Regions from separate parts of the Homo sapiens genome. Here all the other regions are linked to region 3. The links are contacts of gene promoters, found by promoter capture Hi-C in human tissues and cell types (Jung and others, 2019). All regions are on one chromosome and are shown on one strand. Each heading gives the region's core, a stretch centred on a gene start or on the middle of the fragment in contact. The rest is flanking DNA. Distances are from core to core; before and after follow the strand shown.

Region 1 (3,544 bases), core at 330-2,829, 260 kb after region 3:
AGAGCCAGATTCTGTCTCAAAAGACAAACAAACAAATAAACAAACAAAAAAACTTCATGGGAACCTCAGTTCTAGAGTCCCAAGCACTAAAGTTTTGGTCAGATGTGGGGCTCTCTAGGCTCCAATTCTCACTGTTCACCCCCAAAATCTCTCCCATGGAACCCTGGATCCCAGAGGAGATCAGCATGGGGACTTAGACCAGGTGTGGGGACCAGAGGTGACATCCCCACCTCTTCTCCCTGACTCCCCAAATTTCAGATGATGACTCTGACTCTATAACCCTGACTTCTCATCCCAGGGTGACACCCCGGAGCTCAGATAATAGGCAGTTGCTGGTCTGTGAGGCGTCTAGCCCAGCACTGGAGGCCCCCATCAAGGCCTCATTCACCGTGAATGTTCTGTGTAAGTGGAGAACTGGGCCAACTAGGGCGCTGAGGATGGGGAGCAGGCACTGGGGGGTGTGGGGGGATCACAGGGATTATGGAAATTCAGGCACTCAGAGAAACATGGGGGTTCAAAGGCAGGTTGTGGGGCCTGGAAAGAGTGGATGGGCTACTCCAGGCCCACTGAGTGACTGATATCCCCCAGTCCCTCCAGGACCCCCTGTCATCGAGTGGCCAGGCCTGGATGAGGGGCACGTGCGGGCAGGACAGAGCTTGGAGCTGCCGTGCGTGGCCCGAGGGGGTAATCCCTTAGCCACACTGCAGTGGCTGAAGGTGAGGGCAAACGCGGGCATGGGGAATGGGGGGACAGTGGGGTCTGGGAGCCAGTCCTGAGCTGGCCCAGGCCTGTCCCTGTCTCCAGAATGGCCAGCCGGTGTCCACAGCGTGGGGCACAGAGCACACCCAGGCGGTGGCCCGCAGTGTGCTGGTGATGACCGTGAGGCCAGAAGACCATGGAGCGCAGCTCAGCTGCGAGGCCCACAACAGCGTGTCTGCAGGGACCCAGGAGCACGGCATCACACTGCAGGTCACCTGTGAGTCCTGGTGCCAGCTGCCCCCCTGTCGGTCTGTGCCTCAGAGAACCATCTGTGTGTGCCCCCAAATTATGCCTACTGGATGCCAAAGATCTCAGCATCTGTCTCCAGTCCTGTTCTGTCTGGGCTGGTCTGTGAGAAATCCAGCCCAGCTTAGTGTCTTCCTTCTCTGTCCCTGCAGTTCCCCCTAGTGCCATTATTATCTTGGGATCTGCATCCCAGACTGAGAACAAGAACGTGACACTCTCCTGTGTCAGCAAGTCCAGTCGCCCGCGGGTTCTGCTACGATGGTGGCTGGGCTGGCGGCAGCTGCTGCCCATGGAGGAGACAGTCATGGATGTGAGGCGGGGGCCAGGCTCCTGGGTCTGAGCATGGAGGGGGCTGAGGGCATGACTCGTGGATAGGGAAGGGGTGGGTCCAGCAGCCTGGGGGGCTTTCTCCTTGAGGACCATGGGTCCAACAGAGGGGGAGGTAGAGATGTCTCCTGTGTCCCTGCTGGGGACTGGGATGGACTCAGGCCTCTAGCACGATGGATAGGGGTGCTGCAGTCCCCACGTCTGAAGCTCACTCCCTGCCAGGGACTGCATGGCGGTCACATCTCCATGTCCAACCTGACATTCCTGGCGCGGCGGGAGGACAACGGTCTGACCCTCACATGTGAGGCCTTCAGTGAAGCCTTCACCAAGGAGACCTTCAAGAAGTCGCTCATCCTGAACGTAAAATGTGAGCCCCTGCCCTGGCCCAGCAATGCCCCCAAGCCTCAGGACCCAGCACAGAGAAAAAGTCATTCTTCCTTCCTCTCCCCGCCAGATCCCGCCCAGAAACTGTGGATTGAGGGTCCCCCAGAGGGCCAGAAGCTCCGGGCTGGGACCCGGGTGAGGCTGGTGTGTTTGGCTATCGGGGGCAACCCAGAGCCCTCCCTCATGTGGTACAAGGTTGGTGCCACGCCAGGGCTATGGGGGTGGCCAGGAATGTGGGGGAAGGACCAGGCCCCTTCTCTCCTTCAGAATCTTGGGCAATCTTGGAAAAAGATTAAATTTCTTGAAAAGTACTAAAGATTCTGAGGTTTGGCAGGGAATCAGGAAAGACACAAATGCTATGAGAATTAAATGGAATCCTAGGAAAATTCTGGGGAAACAGTGAGAATTTTAGGATAAAAATTGGAATTCTGAATCAAGATTAGGCATTCTAGAGAAAAGGTAATTTCATTAAAATTAAAGAAAATTCTAGTGAAAACCCTCAGAATTCAGGTGAAATGTCAGGAATTTTAGGGAAAGACTTGAATCCCAGAAAAAAAAAAAAAACAATGCTGTAAAATTTGGCTGGGCACAGTGGCTCACGCCTGTAATCCAAGCACTTTAGGAGGCCGAGGTAGACGGATCACCTGAAGTCGGGAGTTAGAGACCAGCCTGACCAACATGGAGAAACCCTGTCTCTACTAAAAATACAAAAAATTAGCTGGGCATGGTGGCGGGGGCCTGTAATCCCAGCTACTGGAGAGGCTGAGGCTGGAGAATTGCTTGAATCCGGGAGGCCCAGGTTGTGGTGAGCCGAGGTTGTGCCACTGCACTCCAGTCTGGGCAACGAGACCGAAACTCCGTCTCAAAAAAAAAAAAAAAAAAAAAAAAAAAGGCTGGGCACAGTGGCTCACGCCTGTAATCCCAGCACTTTGGGAGGCTGAGGCGGGCGGATCACGAGGTGAGGAGATCGAGACCATCCTGGCTAACACGGTGAAACTCCGTCTCTACTAAAAATACAAAAAATTAGCCAGGCGTGGTGGCAGGTGCCTGTAGTCCCAGCTACTCGGGAGGCTGAGGCAGGAGAATGGCGTGAACCCGGGAGGCGGAGCTTGCAGTGAGCCGAGATCGTGCCACTGCACTCCAGCCTGGGTGACAGAGGGAGACTCCGTCTCAAAAAAAAAGAAAAGAAAAGAAAAGAAAATTTGGAGAAAAGCTAGTAATTCCACAGACTATCGGAAATTCATTAGTATTAAACTGAACTCTTGGGATTTGGAGGCAAGAAAATGAAATTTCATTAAAATGAAAGAGAAGCCTAATAGAATTCTAGGAGAATCCTGGGAATTAGGGAGCTAGTTGAAAACTTTGGGGGGAAGACTAGAAATTATAGAAATGACAATGGAATTTTATTTTAATTGGATGGAATTCTGGGGAAGTGCTGAGAATCTGGGCAATACAAAGGAATCTGTTAAAAGACTGGGATCATAAGATATTATAATATCGGGAAAGATTCAGAAATCTATGGAAAGTTTAATTTGTGCAGCAGCAATAATAAAAAAAGGAAGTAATCTATGGAAAGACACTGGAATTAAGGAAAATTTCAAAGGAAATCTTTGGGGACAGCAGGAATTTTAAGAAAAGGAACTGAGGAACTCTGGGAAAGGCCTGGGAATTTCAAGGGAGTTTCCTGCAGGTGGTGTTGGGTAAACACAGCAGAAATAGATTTTGAGGAGTGCGCTGAGAGCCTGCAGGTGGCTGCAGAGGCAGAGCAGGAGTTGGGTGTGGGACAGAAGGCGGATTCAGATCCCCAAAACTGCCATGCACAGGGACT
Region 2 (3,570 bases), core at 671-3,170, 300 kb after region 3:
GGCAGACGCCTGTAATCCTAGCTACTCGGGAGGCTGAGGCAGGATAATTGCTTGAACCCGGGGGCAGAGGCTGTAGTGAGCCGAGATCGTGCCACTGCACTCCAGCCTGGGCAACAGAGTAAGACTCTGTCTCAAAAAAAAAAAAAAAAAAAAAAAAAGACCTAGGACTTCACGCCTGTAATCCCAGCATGTTGGGAGGACAAGTAGGGTGGATCACTTGAGGTCAGGAGCTCAAGACCAGCCTGGCCAACATGGTGAAACCCCATATCTACAAAAATACAAAAATTAGCCAGGTGTGGTGGTGGGTGCCTGTAGTCCCAGCTACTCAGGGGGCTAAAGCAGAAGAATCACTTGAACCCGGGAGATGGGGGTTGCAGTGAGCCGAGATCGCACCACTGCACTCCAGCCTGGGTGACAGAGCAAGGATACGTCTAACAAAACAAAACAAAAAAATTAAGACATATGGTTTCCATTTTAAAAAAAGAAAATAGGATATAGAAGTCCCCATATCCCTCTACCCCATTACAATTCCTCCCATCCCCCACAATCAACCACCTCTCTGACTTCTGTGATAATCATGTCCTTACTTTTCTTGTCCTCATAGTTTGACCACCCACGCATGTATTCCCAACATTTTACTGCAGTTTCACTTTCCTTGCTTTTATATTTATTGAAAAGTATAGACCAGCCACAGTGGCTCATGCCTGTAATCCCAGCACTTTGGAAGGCTGAGGCGGGCAGATCACCTGAGGTCGGGAGTTCAAGACCAGTCTGACCAACATGGAGAAACCCTGTCTCTACTAAAAATACAAAATTAGTGGGGCGTGGTGGCACATGCCTGTAATCCCAGCTACTCTGGAAGCTGAGGCAAGAGAATCGCTTGAACCCGGGGGGTGAAGGTTGCAGTGAGCTGAGATTGTGCCATTGCACTCTAGCCTGGGCAACAAGAGTGAAACTGTGTCTCAAAAAAAAAAAAAAAAAAAAAAAAAAAAGAATAATACAGCTTGCCCTGTTTGGTGTCTGGCTTCTTTCACTTGACATTGTGAGATTCAGCCACACAGTTGTGTGTATCAGTATCCATTCTTTTTCATTACTGTATAGTATTCCATTGCATAACTACACCACCATATATGTATCCATTCTCCTTTTGATGGACATTTGGGTAGTTCAGACACTGCTCCTCTGAACATTCTTTCCTGTACATGTTTCCTGCTGTCCATGTTTAAGGTCTCTAGGATATGTACTTAGCATGGAACAGCTGGGTTATATAGGTTATTTGTCTTTTCTTTTTTCTTTTTTTGGCGACAGAGTCTCACTTTGTCACCCAGGGTGGAGTGCAGTGGCACAATCACAGCTCACTGCACCCTTGACCTCCCAGGCTCAAGAGATCCACCTTCCTCGGCCTCCTGAGTAGCTAGGACCACAGGTGTGTGCCACCACACACAGTTAATTTTTGTATTTTTTGTAGAGATGGGGTCTCACTATGTCGCCCAGGGTAGTCTCAAACTCCTCGGTCTTGGCCTCCCAAAGTGTTGGGATTACAAACGTGAGAACCGTATTTTCAAATGTATTCAATAACACTACAGCGTTTCCAATTTTAAGAGGAAGCAATTGCCACAAAAGTGATTAAGTAGCCTGTCCTGGATCACAAAGCCCGGTGTCCTGAGCCCAGGGATCCTTGCTCCGGAGCCCCTGCTTTCCCCAGCACATGGTGGTTACCTAATAAGTGCAGGCTGTTGTGCTGAGCATTCTTGGGGGCTGTTACTGGGGTTCACCTCCCGTTTCCGTTACTCTGAACTCTGTCCCCATTTGTTAATAATTAATTGCCCCCAAGGAGCCTGTGATCCTGAGGCTTTGCCCAGTTAATCAGTCACTGCCCCTGGTCTGGGCAAGGGGCAGTTGGTGAACTTGCTGCCTCCAGAGAACCTTCCCTGGTGTGGAGGCAGCCAGGGACCCAGGATGCTCCGGACCTGTTACGTGCTCTGTTCCCAAGCTGGTCCCCCCTCCAGGGGCTGGCAGTCCCTGAGCTTTGATGGCGGGGCCTTCCACCTTAAGGGCACAGGAGAGCTGACACGGGCCTTGCTGGTTCTCCGGCTGTGTGCCTGGCCCCCACTCGTCACTCACGGGCTGTTGGTGAGCAGTGATCCTGAGGACCAGCCTGGAGGCTCCTCATAGCCTGGCGCTGAGCCCTCGCTCCCTGTCACCCAGCTCCAGGCCTGGTCTCGGCGACTCCTGGGCTCCCGGCTCTCAGGCGCATTTCTCCGAGCATCCGTCTATGGGCAGTTTGTGGCTGGTGAGACAGCAGAGGAGGTGAAGGGCTGCGTGCAGCAGCTGCGGACCCTCAGCCTCCGACCACTGCTGGCAGTGCCCACTGAGGAGGAGCCGGACTCTGCTGCCAAGAGTGGGTGAGTAGGGAGCCAGGGCCCAGGGAGGCTGGGAGGACGCAGGAAGGGGCTTTGCTGTTCGGGCCCTGACACCTGCTGGCTGGGCAGTGAGGCGTGGTATGAGGGGAACCTCGGTGCTATGCTGCGGTGTGTGGACCTGTCACGGGGCCTCCTGGAGCCCCCCAGCCTGGCTGAGGCCAGCCTCATGCAGCTGAAGGTGACGGCGCTGACCAGTACTCGGCTCTGTGTAAGGAGTGCAAAGACGGGGGTGCGGGGAGGGCGCGGCTGCCCATCGGGCTCCCCTCACCACCCCGCCTACCACCCCATTTCAGAAGGAGCTAGCCTCGTGGGTCAGAAGGCCAGGAGCCTCCTTGGAGCTGAGCCCCGAGAGGCTGGCTGAAGCTATGGACTCTGGGCAGGTAAGGATCTCAAGCGGGACTGTCGGGGACAGAGTGCCTTGGACTTAGATGCGGCCACACCGCACGCCAGATGTTCAAAATGCTACGGCCACCTCCAGGCTTGGAACAGCCAGCAGAAGTGCAGCTGTAGCTCCCAGGCATGGTTGAAATGGATGGAATCAGGGTCATCTGGGTTCTCAGGGAGGAGCCTGGAGGCTGGAGGCTCTCAGAGGAGGGATTGGGATAGAAGCTGTTTATCAATTAGAAGGAGGTACATCAGTGTGTTCTCAGTCAACACAGCTGCATGGGTGTGAGCTGGCTGGGTGTAAGTTCTGATTAGGCCAATGGGGTCTTAGTTTGTTCATTCAATCATTAATTCCTTTTTATCTCCACATTCTCTTTCAACCCTACTCCATCTTTTTTTCTTTCTTTCTCTCTCTCTCCTTCCTTCCTCTTCCTCTTTTGCTCTCTCTCCTTCCTTCCTTCTTTTCTTTTTCCTTCTCTCCCCTCCCTCCCTCCCTCCCTTCCTTCCTTCCTTCCTTTATTCCTTCCTTCCTTCCTTCTCTCTCCTCCCTCCTCTCTCTCTCTCTCTCTCTTTCTCTTTGTCTTACTGTATTGCACAGGGTGGTCTCTAACTCATGGCCTCAAGCAATCCCCCAGCCTCAGCCCCCCAAAGTTCTGGGATTATAGGTGTGAGCCACCACACCCAGCCTGCCGTCTTGTATAATGCATATCTTTTTGTTTCTATGATTTTGTTTTGCCAGGTGTATACCATTCGTGGGGGGCAT
Region 3 (3,688 bases), core at 1,005-3,504:
TAAAGCGCCCCCACCCTGCTTTCCAGTGTTGAGCATTTCTGGTACCTATTCCAAGCTCTTCAGACTCTTCCGCCCATGACCCACCATCTGCTACCGTCACCCAGTGCAGACATGGGCCAGACACCTGTGTCTCCACTCTCCCTCACCAGGATGCTCCCTCCCCTGGGGGATGGAGAGGGAGGCCTTCCCTTGCCTTTCGATCTGGAGCCTGAATCGTATAACCGGCATCCGTCTGCACTCTGCATTCCGTGACAGGCCCCTATTTTGGTGCCACCTTACACCCACCCACTGGGGTCCGAGAGACATCATGTCTTGATTCTCCATACCCCACATACACAAACCATGGACACTCCACAGCCCAGCACCTCTCTCCATTTCCTTCCATCCCCACCTGGGGCCCAGCAACTTTTCCCTGTCCCTGCCACTGCTCACCAGTGTGAGTCCTCATGTGGCGCTTGAGATCGAAGGCGTCATGAAAGCCCTTGCCACAACAGCGGCACAGGTGGCGGCGCACGGGGCTGTGGCACTTGAGGTGCCTTGTCAGCATGCGCTGCAGAGGGAAGGCCTTAGGGCAGAGCGGGCAGCCCAGCGTCCCAGGGCCCCTGGGAGCAGAGGTCAGGTTGCCCTGTGTGGGCTGCTGGAGGGATGCAGGAGTTATTAGCCTCTCTGGCTGGACCCCATCCACCCTTTGTTACTCTGCAAATGAGTATTTACAGAGTGTCCTGAGCCACCACGGAGGATTAGGAAGGCAGGTGGGAGACAGTGATTAGTGTGTGTGCCTGTCACTCTCCAGGGCCTTCCCTCACTATCCCATGGTCCTTACTTTCTCTATGCCAAGTCCCATCTTCTGATGTGACATACACATTTTTTTTTTTTAAAGACAGAGTCTTGCTCTGTCGCCCAGGCAGGAGTGAAGTGGTATGATGTCAGGTCACTGCAACCTCCGCCTCCCGGGTTCAAGCGATTCTAGTGCCTCAGCCTCCCCACGATTACACGATTGTAGGCATGCGCCACATGCCCAGTTAATTTTTTTATTTTTTGTAGAGATGGGGTTTCACCATGTTGGCCAGGCTGGTCTTGAATTCCTGACCTCAAGCAATCCACCCACCTTGGCCTCACAAAGTGCTGGGATTACAGGCATGAGCCACTATGCCCGGTCTATTTTTCTAATTTTATTGTTTTTTTTGAGGGGGGATGGAGTCTAGATCTGTTTCCCAGGCTGGAGTGCAGTGGCGCAGACTCGGCTCACTGCATCCTCTGCCCTGCCTCCTAGGTTCAACTGATTCTCCTGCCTCAGCCTCCTGAGGAGCTGGGATTACAGGCACGTGCCACCATGTCTGGCTAATGTTTGTAATTTTAGTAGAGACAAGGTTTCAACATGTTGGCCAGCCTGGTCTCGAACTCATGACCTCAAGTGATTCACCCGCCTCGGCCTCCCAAAGTGCTGGAATTACAGGCTGACTAATTTTATTGTCTATACATGCAGCCCCAACCAGAATATAAGCTCCATAAAATTGTGGATTTTTGTCTTATTCCCGCTGAATATAACAGCCCATGCCTAGAACAGTGCCTTGCTTTCATGAATATATTACATTCCGGCTGGCGCTTTCCTTCCTCCAATGCATGCACAGCTGAAAAAGCCCTTATCTCCCATCGCACTCCTGTTGCCTTGTCCCATGTTCTGACATAAAGCGGATCATCCACATGTGGGGATGAATCTTGTGCCCCGCTGGAAGAGATCCCTGTGGCTGCCGGCCCTGGTGCCTGGGGTGAGACCTAACAGTAGAGAGCTCACTACTAGGAAAGGAGAGGCATTCCCAACACAGAGAAGTAGGGGCGGACAGGTCCCGAGGCTGGAGGGCGTGTGCAGATGGGTCGGGGGAGCAAGGGGCTGTCAGCTTCATTAAGGCTGAGAGCAGGCAGGAGCGAAACAGCTGGCTTTGCTAGCCAGTTACACACTCACCGCTGTCCACGGATCCCTGACACTGGACGACTGTTGTGCCGGTGGCCCCCCCAGGCTGCTGCAGTCTGAGGAGAAAAGCCAGATGGTGACACTGCGTCTCTCCTGCCCCTTACCTCCAGGCACAGTGAGGGGCCCACCTGGGATATAGGCATCTCCCCGGAGCTGGTCAGGCAGATGGCCCCAGTTGGGGGGCTGTGGACGCCGACTCCTGACCAGGAAGGCGCGGGGCATGCCCTCCGGAAGGCTCTCCACACACAGGGGCTGCTTCCACCTGCTGTCAGACCTCAGCCCCAGGATGACTATCCCTGGTGGGAAAGGAGGGGAAGCCTCTGAGGAACCTCATTCTCTTCATGCAAATTTCCTGGCTGGCCCTGGGAGTGGACTAAGCTGGCTCAGGTTACCCCTGCCTGGGGACCTGCCCATCTTCTCCCAGGTTTTGGAGGGAACCATCCAGCCTCCAGGGGTGGACAAGCACTAGGACCACCAAGCAGAGCCAGGCAAGGGGAGATGGGCCTGGGGAGCTTTTGAGGATAGGAAGAAGAAACAAGGCCCCAGGGGGACTGTCTCCCAGGGGTTGAGGGTCTGTTTGCCAGGCAAATCAGTCACCAGGGGACATCCAGCAGCCTGCCTGGTTATTCAAATCACAGCAGCTGTCTGAGGACACTGAAGGGGCCCCCTGCTGTGATTGCCCTGCTCTGTAGGGTGCAGGGAGGACAGCAGATCTGGATAAATCAGGGCAAAATGAGGATCCAGGCTGTGCATCCTCAGGTAGGATGCCCCACCTCTCTGATCTTCAGATTCCCAGGGCTAACATTCAGCCAGAAGCACTGTTCAGGTGTAGCAGGCACTAAAATACTAGTTTGTTAATAATCTAGCCCCTAGTTACTGCCTGGGACAACACTCTTCCTCCCTCCCACAGTCTGGAAAGTAAAAGGGGGTCTCCTATTTTTTTTTCTTTTTTTGAGACGGAGTTTCACTCTTGTTGCCCAGGCTGGAGTGCAGTGGCACCATCTTGGCTCACTGGAACCTCCACCTCCCGGGTTCAAACGATTCTCCTGCCTCAGCCTCCTGAGTAGCTGGGACTACAGGCATGCACCACCACACCGGGCTAATTTTTGTATTTTTGGTAGAGACAGAGTTTCACCATGTTGGCCAGGCTAGTCTTGAACTCCTGACGTCAAGTGATCCGCCTGCCTTGGCCTCCCAAAGTGCTGGGATTACAGGCATGAGCCACCGCACCTGGCCCAAAGGGGGTCTCTTGACACAGCCAGGGGCTCCCAGGACCCTACCCCGGCACACTGGCCAAGCTGTTTTACACTTGATTCTTAGCCAGAAGACTAAGAAGCAATCCAAGCTCTGTTTTTTAATTTTTTTTTTTTGAGGCGGAGTTTTGCTCGTTGCCCAGGCTGGAGTGCAATGGCGTGATCTTGGCTCCTCTATGACCTCCGCCTCCTGGGTTCAAGTGAGTCTCCTGCCTCAGCCTTCCAAGTAGCTGGGATTACAGGGGCACACCACTGCACCCAGCTGATTTTTTGTGTTTTTTGTAGAGATGGGGTTTCACCATGTTGGCCAGGCTGGTCTCAAACTCCTAAATGCAGGTGATCCGCCCGGCTCAGCCTCCCAAAGTGCTGGGATTACAGGCGTGAGCCACCGCGCCCAACCTGTTTTTATTTTTTTTGTTTTGTTTTGTTTTGTTTTTTGAGACAGATTCTCACTCTGTTGCCC

The links. Contacts are between HindIII fragments. The study calls those that stand out against the background at their distance.
Region 1: a contact is called between a fragment that was not itself captured here and the fragment with the promoter of OVOL3 in region 3, in 2 of the 25 tissues and cell types used here (mesenchymal stem cells and spleen).
Region 2: the fragment with the promoter of PRODH2 here is called in contact with the fragment with the promoter of OVOL3 in region 3 in 1 of the 25 tissues and cell types used here (mesenchymal stem cells).

Annotation. Positions count from the first base shown.
Region 1 is chr19:35,846,408-35,849,951 of GRCh38, reverse strand. It overlaps NPHS1 (NPHS1 adhesion molecule, nephrin), which reads left to right. Exons shown (of 29, transcript NM_004646.4): 6 at 299-402; 7 at 589-716; 8 at 805-976; 9 at 1,158-1,315; 10 at 1,555-1,699; 11 at 1,787-1,911. Among named protein-coding and RNA genes, the nearest start is that of NPHS1, 4.3 kb to the left of the region's middle. RefSeq lists a silencer at 1,667-1,842. The HindIII fragment of the contact is 9,341 bases long and covers 1-3,544 here.
Region 2 is chr19:35,811,195-35,814,764 of GRCh38, reverse strand. PRODH2 (proline dehydrogenase 2) reads left to right here and starts at 1,920. Exons shown (of 10, transcript NM_021232.2): 1 at 1,920-2,133; 2 at 2,209-2,405; 3 at 2,493-2,631; 4 at 2,717-2,803. The coding sequence starts at 1,960. The HindIII fragment of the contact is 15,660 bases long and covers 1-3,570 here.
Region 3 is chr19:36,109,709-36,113,396 of GRCh38, reverse strand. OVOL3 (ovo like zinc finger 3) reads right to left here and starts at 2,254. Exons shown (of 4, transcript NM_001302757.2): 1 at 2,101-2,254; 2 at 1,964-2,028; 3 at 433-637. The coding sequence starts at 2,194. It also overlaps a transcript of WDR62 not described here. RefSeq lists enhancers at 1,395-2,024, 2,025-2,655. The HindIII fragment of the contact is 22,945 bases long and covers 1-3,688 here.